Regions from separate parts of the Homo sapiens genome. Here region 1 is linked to region 2. Evidence: promoter capture Hi-C in 16 types of primary human blood cells and fetal thymus (Javierre and others, 2016). All regions are on one chromosome and are shown on one strand. Each heading gives the region's core, a stretch centred on a gene start or on the middle of the fragment in contact. The rest is flanking DNA. Distances are from core to core; before and after follow the strand shown.

Region 1 (5,550 bases), core at 1-2,500, 500 kb after region 2:
CTGGAACGTAGAGGCCAGTTCTTGGCTCAGGGAGCCAGGAGGGCTCTGACTGTTGCACATACAAGCCACTCACACTGCTATCGCCCACATACCTTCCTCTCCCGCCAGCCCACCCCAAAGCCCAAACTCCTGCCCGCATGCTGGGAAGGTGAGCCCTTGCCTGGAGAGCCCAGCAGGGGAAATAGAAGGAGGGAAGGAGGCCTGCTCCTTCCCCGGAGCTCTGCTCTGCGGCTGCAGGAAGACCCGCAGAGGCCCTGGGCAGCAGAACTGTGGACAGCAAGGCTGGAGTTGTGAAACCCAACCACTCAGCTGGATTCCAGAAGCTCAGGTGGTGGTGACTAAACCTGGCCTTACTTAAAATGCATGACTTTATTGTCTTTCAATGTATTTTCAGTAAACTTCATCCTCTCCATTACTATTTTCTTTTCTTCGGAAACAAGCAACAGATCTTTGTAAAAAAAATACGTGATGCCACGCACTTAGGAATCACCCTCATGTGGAGATGAGATTTCTTTTTTATTTTTTTTTTCTGAGAGTCTCACTCTGTTGCCCAGGCTGGAGTGCAGTGACGTGATCTCGTCTCACTGCAACCTCTGCCTCCCAGGCTCAAGCGATTCTCATGCCTCGGCCTCCTGAGTAGCTGGGATTACGGGCATGTACCACCGTGCCCAGCTAATTTTTGCATTTTTAGTAGAGATGGGGTTTCGCCATGTTGGCTAGGCTGATCTCAAACTCCTGACCTCAAGTGATCCACCCACCTCGGCCTCCCAAAGTGCTGGGATGACAGGCGTGAGCCACTGTGCCTGGCCAGAGATGAGACTTCTATGTGTGGTGCTAAAAGAGTGAATAAAAACATTAGATACTACACTGGACATGCTTCTAAGAGCTTAGTCATCTCACCTAAGTTCTGGGACCAACTCCCATTTTCTTAGGATTCCTTGGGCCCCCTTACCACCCCCCCGCCGCTCTGCCCCGCTCATTATGAAAGTTTGGACATCACTCTGTCTCTCTGGGTTCCAGACTACCTTTCTGAAAATGGGGTGGTTGGACTGGCTGAAAGCTCAGGTTCTTCTTTCCTTCTAATGTTCTAAGAATCTACTTATTTCACAGAGTTCTGTATAAATCCACTGACCAAGTTTTCTAAACCAAAACCAAAAACATGTCTGATGAAGGAAGTATCTTTTTTCTTCTTTGCTAACTTACATGAAAAGGCTTATAAAGGTATATAGTGATTGCAGACTTAAGCAGTCACCCTTATCATTATTATTATTATTATTTGAGTCAAGAGGCTTGCTCTGTTGCCCAGGCTGGAGTGCAGTGGCGCAATACTGGCTCACTGCAACCTCTGCCTCCCAGTTTCAAGCAATTCTCCTGCCTCAGCCTCCTGAGTAGCTGGGAATCCAGGCGCCCACCACCACATCCAGCTGATTTCTCTATTTTTAGTAGAGATGGGGTTTCACCATGTTGGCCAGGCTGGTCTCAAACTCCTGACCTCAAGTGATCTGCCTGCCTTGGCCTCCCAAAGTGCTGGGATGATAGGCGTGAGCCACCGCGCCTGGCCTCACCCTTATCAAAAAGAAGTAGGTCACATAGAAGACAATAACCAGCAAGCATTTGTGTATCCATTTACTCAGTATTGGAAAGTTTGACATTGAGAGCTTTCTGGAAAATGGGTTTGGGCGCTGCTTACGTGTCCGTGGTTGTACTCTACTTCACCAAACTTCTTCCAGAAGCATAGAAGAGTGGACTGTGGAGTGAGGCTCATGACCTCCAGCCCCATGAGGACTTTGGGAGGTTAGCTTCTGCCCTGGCAAGGGTGCCCTAACTCAGGACACCTGGGTAATGGGGACTAGTCACAGATGCTCTAGTCCCATCTGGATGTTTGGCCAAAAATAGTTTTCCTTAGCTCAGTCACTCACCAGTCCTTTAACCTTGCCCTTTGAATGGTTTTAGGTGTTTCCGAAAAATCCAATCCACCCTCCAAGGTGGAAAGTGTGCCATCTCTGCCCATAATCCAAATGGCGTGCCTGAGGCATAGAAAGCAGCTTTCAGGGAGGCCTTCCTTCCTCTGAGCAATGGTGGCATCATCAGAAAAGTGGAGCTCCTCCAAAAGGATCTGCTGGAAGCAGAGGACGCCCATGTGTAAGTGGAAGTCCCAGGATGTTTGTTTTATAAAGTGTTACATCACGGCCCTACCTTGCCCCAGCCCTGGTGTGGCTCACTGGGAAGCTGCTGGGAAAGGAGCCAAATAGGAACTAGGCCAGGGCCTCCTGGAGCCCAGAAGGGCCCTGGGGGCAGGTCAGTGGGCACACACAGTTGCAGAGAAGAGGGGGCCCTTGTCTGGAGGCTGAGAGTTTGGAAGAGTACTTTTTTTTTTTTTTTTTGAGACACAGTCTTACTCTGTCACCCAGGCTGGAGTGGTGCAGTGGCACAATCTTGGCTCACTGCAGCCTCTGCCTCCTGGGTTCAAGTTATTCTTATGCCTCAGCCTCCTGAGTAGCTGGGACTACAGGCGTGCACCACCACTCCTGGCTAATTTTTTGTATTTTTAGTAGAGACAGGTTTTCGCCATGTTGGCCAGGCTGGTCTCAAATTCCCGACCTCAAATGATCCGCCCGTCTCAGCCTCCCAAAGTGTTGGGATTACAGGTGTGAGCCGCCGCACCCGGCCTGGAGGAGTTCATTTTCATGGGGAAAGTGATGTTTATCATTATTTTGCTTCCCACTTCCTTGTCTTTTTCAGTGGGCAGAAGTCAGAGTCCCATTAAGCCTGTACCGAGTCAGTATTCAGACATGCCATCCGACACGTGGACAGAAGCTTTGCCATCTGCCTACTTGGCTTGTCTGTTTCAAGCCCTTCACTGGTGGCCCTGGGTCCACAGAGTAAAGTCCAAACACCTTAGCCTGGCACCCAGGACCCTCTGAGGCCTGCCCTGCCCACCCTCCCAGCCTCTTTTGCCACTCCAGCTCCCTGAGCCACTGATGTTCCACAGACCCTGCCCCTGCCATCGTAACGTGGGTCACGTGGTGTGGGCACCTTTGTTTCCTGCCTCCATCCTGCCTTCCCCTCCCCGCAACTCTCCCTTTGAAATCAGGACCATGATTTTCTTCTCTCCATATGTTCAGTTTCTAGCCTGGTTCCTGGCTCACAAAGCCATTCAATATTGTCAAGTTGAAACTGGGTTTAGTAGCACCTGTGGGCTATTGGGAACAAAAGAAAGCAAGCGAGGCTGTGCTGAAAAGTGGTCATTTGTGGTTGCTATACGAGTGATTAGCTCAGGAGAATTTCTCCCCACGTGCTATCTAAGATTAGGGGAACAAAAGACCCTGGGTGTTCTTCCTTTAGTCAGTTGTTTGTTGATTCATTCCATACGTGTCTGCTGAGTGCCACCTGTGTGCAAGTGGCAGGCAGGACAAGGGAGGACCCTCTGTGGCTGGGCCGGGTTCCTGGGGACCAGCAGGGAATTGATAAGAGCCAAGAGAAGCCTCGCTTTTACCCAGTGCCTAAGGAAACTGCCTCTTTTGTTTTATTTTCTCCTAAGCGCCTGGTGACTCCCTCTGACCCAACAAGTTGCAGCACCTCTGCTGGGCTTTGCCACTGCCCCATTTTTGCCAGAGCCTCACCCTGGTGGGGCCCCACCTCTGGGAAGCCCCAGCGCCTGCAAGATTTTTTCCTCTCGTGACAGGGAGCAGCATGCGGAGGGCCCTTGCACAACCTGGGTCTTCAGGAAGGTGAGTGCTCTGCCCAGGGGCAGTGTGAGCTCTGCGTCCCTGCCAAGTCAGAGGCGGGACCATCCGAAGGGCCTGTGGCTGGGGTCTGCTACACCGAGCCTTGCGGGCCCTCCAAGGGGTAGGGTACCCTGAGGGCAGTGCTCCCTGTCTCTGTTCTAACAGCTGTGAGCACTTGCTCTGTGCCAGCGCCCCTGCCAGGTGCCAGGGAGAAGGAGGGGAGGCCAAGGAGGTCCCTGTGCTCCAGGAGCTCATGGTCCAGAGGGGAGGCTGCCCCCAGGCTTGTGCTCTCTAGGTTCTGGTCCCTGGGACAGTGGTCACACAGACAAAGGAGGTGGACGCAGCCGAGGGAGCAGGGGCCTGGGTTTGGAAAGGCTCGTCCAGGGCCAGGGAGAGTTAGGGAGGGGCCTGCAGCACCCAGGGCAAGAATAAGACCTGTGGGCACCAAGGGAGGCTCCCGCCCACAAGCCCAGCTTTCCTCTGGGAGAGGACTGAGGGCTGTGAAGGGGAGAGCAGAGGAGGAGTCACTCTGGGGAGCAGCCTCTCACCCCCAGGGGCTGCTACTTCACCCAGCTCCAGCCTCCATCAGTCCATCCAAATCCTGGCTGACAGCAGGGCCCCGCCATCGTAGAAGGCAGGTCGGCCTCCACATGCGGGCACAGAATGTTTCCCTTTGGCATTCCATGCCCTGTATGGCTCAGGGCCCAGGCAGGCAGTTCAGCAGAGGGAATTTAGCAAGAGAACTAGTTACAGAGATGACATGTCTTACAGCTGCAGGAAGCCACTATCACCCAGAGGACTGGGGATGAAAGGGGACGAGGGTCCCCAGCAGCGTGGCAGCCACCTGTGGGCTGTCCCAGAGAAACCCACTGACCACCAAGGGCAAGCAGCTAGTGCTGGGGAGGCTGCGAAGCCAAGAGAGGGAGAGGGAGATGGAGACAGAGAGGAGGGACAGGAGCCAGCTCTCCCCTCCGCCCATCCTCCAGGCTCCCACCAGCACTTCCCAGTCAGAAGCCTGTTGACAAGAGATCCCGGTCAGTGTCATTTTCCAAGGCCAGCCCTGTCCACTCCACCAGAGAAACAGCAGAGGCACAGTGGGAGTGGGGAATGGGTCTGAGAGCGGGCGGGCAAGGGCAGGCTCGGCCCCTTGGCGGTAGGCCCGTCAGAGTCTTCCTTCTGCCTTCTTGTAGGACAGTTTCTAACCAGAGTTCTGGTAAGCACTGGTGACATTTCACATTGGCTTAAGCAATAAGGAAAAGCAGTCATCTCACGTAGCAACGTGGCTTGGGGAAGGGAGTCTCCAGTTTCATGTATTCGGAGCCTCAAGAACAACGTTGAAGACCTGGATTCTTTTCCTGTTTTTGCAGTTCCTTGCCCAGGTGTTGGCCCAGCTCTCTTCATGGTTCCAAGAAGGCTGCCCCAGGAAGGCTTGTGGACAGAGGGAGAAGCATCTCTTCCTCTATGTCTCTTTTTATCTAAGAAACCAGTTTGACCAGCATCCTTCCCCTCGGCTCCCCAGGAGGAATGCACGGATCCCTTCGCCTTCCCCCATCCCTCCATGGTTGACTAAACCCACTAGGATCCACTCTTTTGCGTGGAAATGGGTTCAGGCCTCCCACGAAGAGCATGAAGATGCCCTCTGTTATGGGTTACATTATGTCCCCTGCCCCCGAGACCGTATGTTGAGTCCTAACCCTAGTATTGCAGAACGTGAATTTATTAGGAGATAGGGTCTTTATGGAGGTCATTAAGTTAAATGAGGGTGTTAGGGTGGGCTGGTGTCCTGATATAAAGGGGAAATTTGGGGCTGGGTGTAGTGGCT
Region 2 (5,798 bases), core at 3,299-5,798:
TTTATCCTATGGCAATACCTGATCAAGTGTGCAAAAATGTAGTTAGAGGAATGTGTTATTGTGAATGTTTGTAATTAAGAAAAGCTAGGGGAAAAAACCCTAATTGCTCACCAATACATTCAAGTTATCATATAGCCATTCAAGGAAACACCATACAGCCATTTTTTAAAGTGAACTAGATTTCTATGTGCTGATGTGGAAAATGTTTAAACCATAGAAAGGAAAAACAAGCAAGCTGTGGAAGATTGTGCAGTCCGAATCCCATTTGTCTAAGAAAATAAACCATGTGAGTGCTTGTACAGACAGAAGATATCTGGAAAGATCAACACAAATTGTTCACAGTGGTTGTCTCAAGGATTAGGGGCTGGGAATGGAGGAGGCCAGGGACTGCATTCTGTATCCTTCTGCAGAGCTTCAATTTCTTCCTTTCTCCTTTCTTTGTCCCGTTCCTAATCCCTTTCTATCTTTTTTTATTTTTGAGATGGAGTCTTGTTGTCACCCAGGCTGGAGTGCAGTGGCGCGATCTTGGCTCACTGCAACCTCCGCCTTCTGGGTTCAAGCGATTCTCCTGCCTCAGCCTCCCGAGTAGCTGGGAATACAGATACCCACCACCATGCCCGGCTAATTTTTGTATTTTTGTTAGAGATGGGGTTTCACCATGTTGGCCAGGCTGGTCTCAAACCCCTGACCTCAGGTGATCTGCCCACATCGGCCTCCCAAAGCTCTGGGATTACAGGCGTGAGCCAGCACGCCCAGCATTTTTTCTTCCATAAAAACTATGTGCATATATTACTTTAATAATTTAAACAAATAGTAAAGAACTTAAAAATGAAGAGGGTAGGCCAGGCATGGTGGTTCACATCTGTAATCCCAGCACTTTGGGAGGCTGGGAGGATGGGAGGATCGTTGGAGCACAGGAGTTCAAGACCAGCCTGGGCAATATGGTGAGACCCTGTCTCTACAAAACATACACACACACACACATACACACTAGCCAGGTGTGGTGGTGTGCACGTGTAGCCCCAGCTACTCAGGAGGCTGAGGTGGGAGAATCACTTGAGCCTGGGAAGTCAAGGCTGCGGTGAGCTGTGATGGTGCCACTGCACTCCAGCCTGAGTAACACAGTGAGACCCTGTCTCAGATAAAATAAAATGAAATAAACAGGGTTCATGGCAACAGGTCATAGATAGAGATTTTCATTTCTGTTTTAGAGAGCTATTAGAGACAAACTAAACAATCCCATATTCAAATTGACAAAATAGACCCAATGTTTTTAATTACTACAGCTATGGTCTAATAACCTCAGGCTCTTCCTGTTCTTGTTTTTGGCTTTATGATTGGATATTTCTTCATTCATCCCCTATTTATTTTGTGCCTACCATGTATTAGGCTCAAGGACTTTCATCTTCTGCAACGGTGGGGGGGGTCATTTAAAAGAGCCCTAGCTATGCTACAGAAGGGAGGAGACTGGGCGCAGAACGCATGCCTGCAGAGGACTGCATCCATTCAGTAGACATTTGCTGGATATTTTCTATGTATATACCAGGCACCAGGAACATAAAAATGAAGGTGGTACAACCGCTGCCCTCTCTGGAAAAGCTCACACTTGGTGGAGACAGACACAAACAGGAAAGCCCATAAGACAAACATGGTGATGGGCAATGCAGAAGGCGCTGTGGATCCCACAGGACACCTTGTCCAGCCTAGAGGGTTGGGAAGGCCACCTGGAGGAAATGAGCCAGGCTGGAAGTTGAGTGGAGTGGGCCAAGCATGGAGGGAAGGAGCAGGGAATGCGGGGACGGTGCTTGGGAGTGAGCAGTAAGGGAAGTGCTGGGCCGCCAAGGGGAGGCTGAGCTCAGGAGTGTGGACTTTATGGTGAGTATAACTGAGTGACAAGAAATCTGTGTTTTATAAAGGCCACTCCAGTGGCAGTGTGGAGCCGGGTCAGAGGAAATAGAAGAAAGGCAGGTAGAGGGACACTGTTCCCAAGTCAGTCACTTTGGCACCACCCTGATGACTTGTACCCTATTTGGGACCATCTGTGCTGTTATTGACTAGCATTTTTCTTAAATTAGCGTGCTTAGAAAACATAATTGATTTGGCAGGGCGCGGTGACTCATGCCTGTAATCCCAGCACTTTGAGAGGCCGAGGCGGGCAGATTGCCTGAGGTCAGGAGTTTGAGACCTGCCTGGTCAACTTAGTGAAACCCCATCTCTACTAAAAATAGAAAAATTAGCCGAGCGTGGTGGTGGGCGCCTGTGATCCTAGCTACTTGGGAGGCTGAGGCAGGAGAGTCGCTTGAACCCAGGAGGCAGAGGTTGCAGTAAGCTGAGATCACGGCACTGCACTCCAGCCTGGGCAACAGAGGGAGATTCCGCCTCAAAAAAAAAAAAAAAAAAAAAAAGGAAAAGAAAAAAATAATAAATGATTTAAACAGGAAACTAGTGGTAAGAACAAACAACAGGCTGCATGGATCCAGTGCTGGGCCCGGGGTCAGAGGACAGAAACTGCGAAGGGCGGTCTCAAGTGAGGCTGCCGATTCCGGTCCCTGAAGGCCTTGGACCAGGGCACAGAGGAGGGACTGCTGGCTGCAGGAGGGCCCTGTGACCTCATGCTGCTCCTCACTTCACCTCCTTCCCTTGGCTTCCACGCTTCCATTGCTTCCGACCTCGGTGTCCCCGTCTTCTGTCTCCTCCACTGGCTCTTCCTCCCAGCCTTTCTGTGTCGGAGGCTCCTGGATCCAGCATGGGTCCCATCCTCTTTCCTTCCTGCCTTCTCATGGCTTTAAATGGCCTCTAGACGTGGGCGGCGCCCAGATGTGAGCTTCAGCCCAGACTTCTCCCTTGCACTCCAGCCTCGTACCCAGGAGCCCACCTGATTCATGGATTTTTATCTCCCATACATCTTGAGCTTAGCACGTCCAAAACAGACTCTCGTTCTCCCCCAAATCTTCTATGCCCCAGGTCTTCTGTATCCCAGGGGATGGCAAATCATTCCTCCAGTTGCCCAGCTGGAAACGCTGTAGTCATCCTTGATTCTCTCTTTCTCTCACACCCCATATCCAATTTTCAGACAATCCTGCTGGTCCCACCTTCAAAGCATATCCAGAATTCGGCCACTTCCCACCACCTCACTCTATTGCCCTCGGCCTGCATCATGGCAATGGCCTCCTACCTGGTCCCCACCACGCAGCAGCAGAGAACTATTTTAAAATGTGAGACCCTGTCACTACCCTGCTCCAAGCCCCTCCAAGGCGTCCCCACCTAGCCCAGAGGGAAAGCCACAGTCCTTACGGAAGCCGGCAAGGCCCTGCTCAATCCGCTCCCCTGCGCCCACTATCTCTGACCGCAGCTCCCGCCTCCCTGTGCCCCACCAGCCACCCGGGTCTCCTCAAGGGTCACAAAACACACCAGGGTCCCTGCCTCAGGTACAGTCCCACCTTCGTGGCCCCTCATCTCCTTCAAGCCTGAAAGCCTCGCTCCTCCCCGCCTCCCCAGGGCCTGCCTGCTTTACCTTCCAACCAGCCACACCATTTACTTGTTTTTGTATTGCCCGTTACCCCAACTAGGAAGGCGAGGAGTTGTGTCTGTTCTGTTGACTGCCCTGTCCCCGGCGTCTGGGGCCGCGCCTGTCCGAGGGTCAGGTCCGACGCTGGGCATGTGGGGACTCAGTGAGCGGACCCTGGGAAAGACGGCAGCTCGGGAAGGACAAGTGGGGGCCGTCGCGGTGGAGTGGTGCCCGGGGCCGGCCCGGGGCGCGCGACTGCACGGGCAGCGTGGGGCGGCCGCGCGGGGAAGTGGCGCCCGGGAGGCTGCGGGGCACAGACATCGCGGAGCCCCAGGGACTGCCGCCGAGGGGACCGCGGGAGCTGCGAGGGCAAGAAATCCTAAAAGCGCGCGGCCGCGGTGGGCCAGGAGAAGGGACATTCCGGAGACGGCTCTCGGGGGAAGCCACGGGACTCGGGCGTGACAGCCTGCGAGAACCGAGAGGTGAGACGCGCGACCGGGGAGCGCGGCGACCGGCAGAGGCGCCCCCGCCGGGCGAGCGCAGGGGCAGCGCGGGGCGCTGGGGCCGGAACAGCGGGCAATGTGGGCACGGGGCGCGGAGGCCTGAGTGAGCGAAGAAGGAGGCGGCTGTACGGCCGGGGCTCGTCGCGAAGGGGATGGCCGGGGACGGCGGGGACGGCGGGGGCGGCGGGGGCGGTGGCGGGGCGCGAGCGGGGGCGCTCTCGGTGCGCGCGGAGGTTGGCGGGTGCGCGCCGCAGCCGCAGCGCTCCCTCTCCTGTCAGGGCAGGCGCGTACGGCCGCGAGTCGGGCGCGCAGCCCCGGGAGCGCAGTCCCGGGCGCAACCTCGCGGAACGCGCGGCCCCCGCCCCCCGCCCCGCGCCGCTCGTCCCCGTCAGCCCCGCCCCGGCGCTCTTCTCGCCGACCAATCAGGAGGCGCGACCGGCCTCCCAGCCCCGAGGCCTCGCCCCCAGCCGGCGCATCGCCAGCCAATGAGCGGCCGAGCCCGGCGCCCAGTGCGCGCAGCCCGCGCGGAGCCGGCTCAGAGCGAGAAAAGCAAACCCAACCCGTCGGGGCCGCCGCTCCGGACCCGCAGCCGCCGCCGCCGCCTCCTCCCCCCGGATCGGGTGTACTGTCCCAACCCGAAAGTCCAGTTCTGCGGCCCGGCAGCGGCGAGCGGGCGCGATGACACAGGAGTACGACAAGTGAGTGAGGCGCAGGAGTCCGGCCGCCGCGGGGGGGCCGCGCTGAGGGGCCGCACCTGCAGCGAGCGAGCCGGGCGCAGACCCGAGGCCGCGCGGGCGGGCGGGCGCGGGGCGCGAGCCGGGGGCCGCTGTCCACTCCACGCCGCCACGGCCTTTGCCCCTTAGCCCTGCCGTGCTCTTTGTTCGGTCGGAGCCTCGGGAGGAGAGACCCTGTCCTCGGGGAAACTCGACACCGGAGGGGCCACCCTCCTCCCCTCCTCCGCGGCCAGGTTGGGTCCCCTCGGGCGCGCACCTTGGGGTCCGGGCCCCCGGCGCGGTCGGGTGCGGCGCGAGGTCGGGGCGCAGCCAACGCCCCCGGGCCTCCCCGCCCCCCTCTCCTGCCCGGTCGGCCTCGGGAGCCTGGTGGGGCTCGCGCCGCGTCGGGACAGGTGGACTTCTCCAGGTAATCTGTGGTCTCAGGCTCGTCACTCGGCGACCTGCTGGAACCTCCAAAACAGAAATGTAGGGAAAGGTTGAAGTGCCCCGATGTCCGGGCGTTTTCTTTTCCCTGGCTGGCGGCATGAGTGGGAAAACGGCTGTAGGAGTTATTTTGCCACTTGCATCATTGATGGTAATTACAGATTACCGTGTTTTTAGTGCTCGAGAGAATCAAGAGGATGAAACTTTGAAATCCGGGTGTTAAACGAGAAAGTACTGTACAAGCTAATATGCTTTTTAGAGTGTGTGATTTAAAAGCGTATTTCGACAAATGTGAGGTGGTAGTGTAATAAGGCATGGGGGATTAACTGGGCGAGGGAGTTTTCTGTATTTTCTTTGCAGCTTTTCTGAAAATATAAAATTGTCCTAAAAATTTTAAAAACTTACTAAAGAAAAAACAGGGAAATCGCACCAGGCCAGTCAGTATATTTCAGATCAGGAAGTTTAAGGCAGATAGGTACCCCTCCCAGTTTCTTAGTTATTTGTGAAGGATCGGTTTTTGTCAGTGTGTTCTTTTTCTGGATGAGATAGATATTTTGTATGGAGTATCTTAAATGGATTACTCTTATGTTGTAGAATATGCAGTTAAATTATTGCCTGAAACATATTTCA

Evidence for each region. The method cuts DNA at HindIII sites, captures the fragments that hold promoters and counts their contacts. A CHiCAGO score of 5 or more calls a contact.
Region 1: a contact is called between a fragment that was not itself captured here and the fragment with the promoter of GRHL1 in region 2, in 1 of 17 cell types (neutrophils). The highest score is 6.4, in neutrophils.

Annotation. Positions count from the first base shown.
Region 1 is chr2:10,450,328-10,455,877 of GRCh38, forward strand. It overlaps ODC1-DT (ODC1 divergent transcript), which reads left to right. Exons shown (of 5, transcript NR_110597.1): 3 at 1,954-2,142; 4 at 3,542-3,731; 5 at 5,096-5,225. Among named protein-coding and RNA genes, the nearest start is that of ODC1-DT, 3.4 kb to the left of the region's middle. The HindIII fragment of the contact is 3,130 bases long and covers 1-2,815 here.
Region 2 is chr2:9,947,145-9,952,942 of GRCh38, forward strand. It overlaps GRHL1 (grainyhead like transcription factor 1), which reads left to right and starts at 4,549. Exons shown (of 16, transcript NM_198182.3): 1 at 4,549-4,709. The coding sequence starts at 4,690. It overlaps LOC105373422 (a long non-coding RNA gene), which reads right to left and starts at 3,709. Exons shown (of 3, transcript XR_922784.4): 1 at 3,561-3,709. RefSeq lists silencers at 3,780-3,859, 4,010-4,059, 4,160-4,209, 4,300-4,839. The HindIII fragment of the contact is 14,804 bases long and covers 1-5,798 here.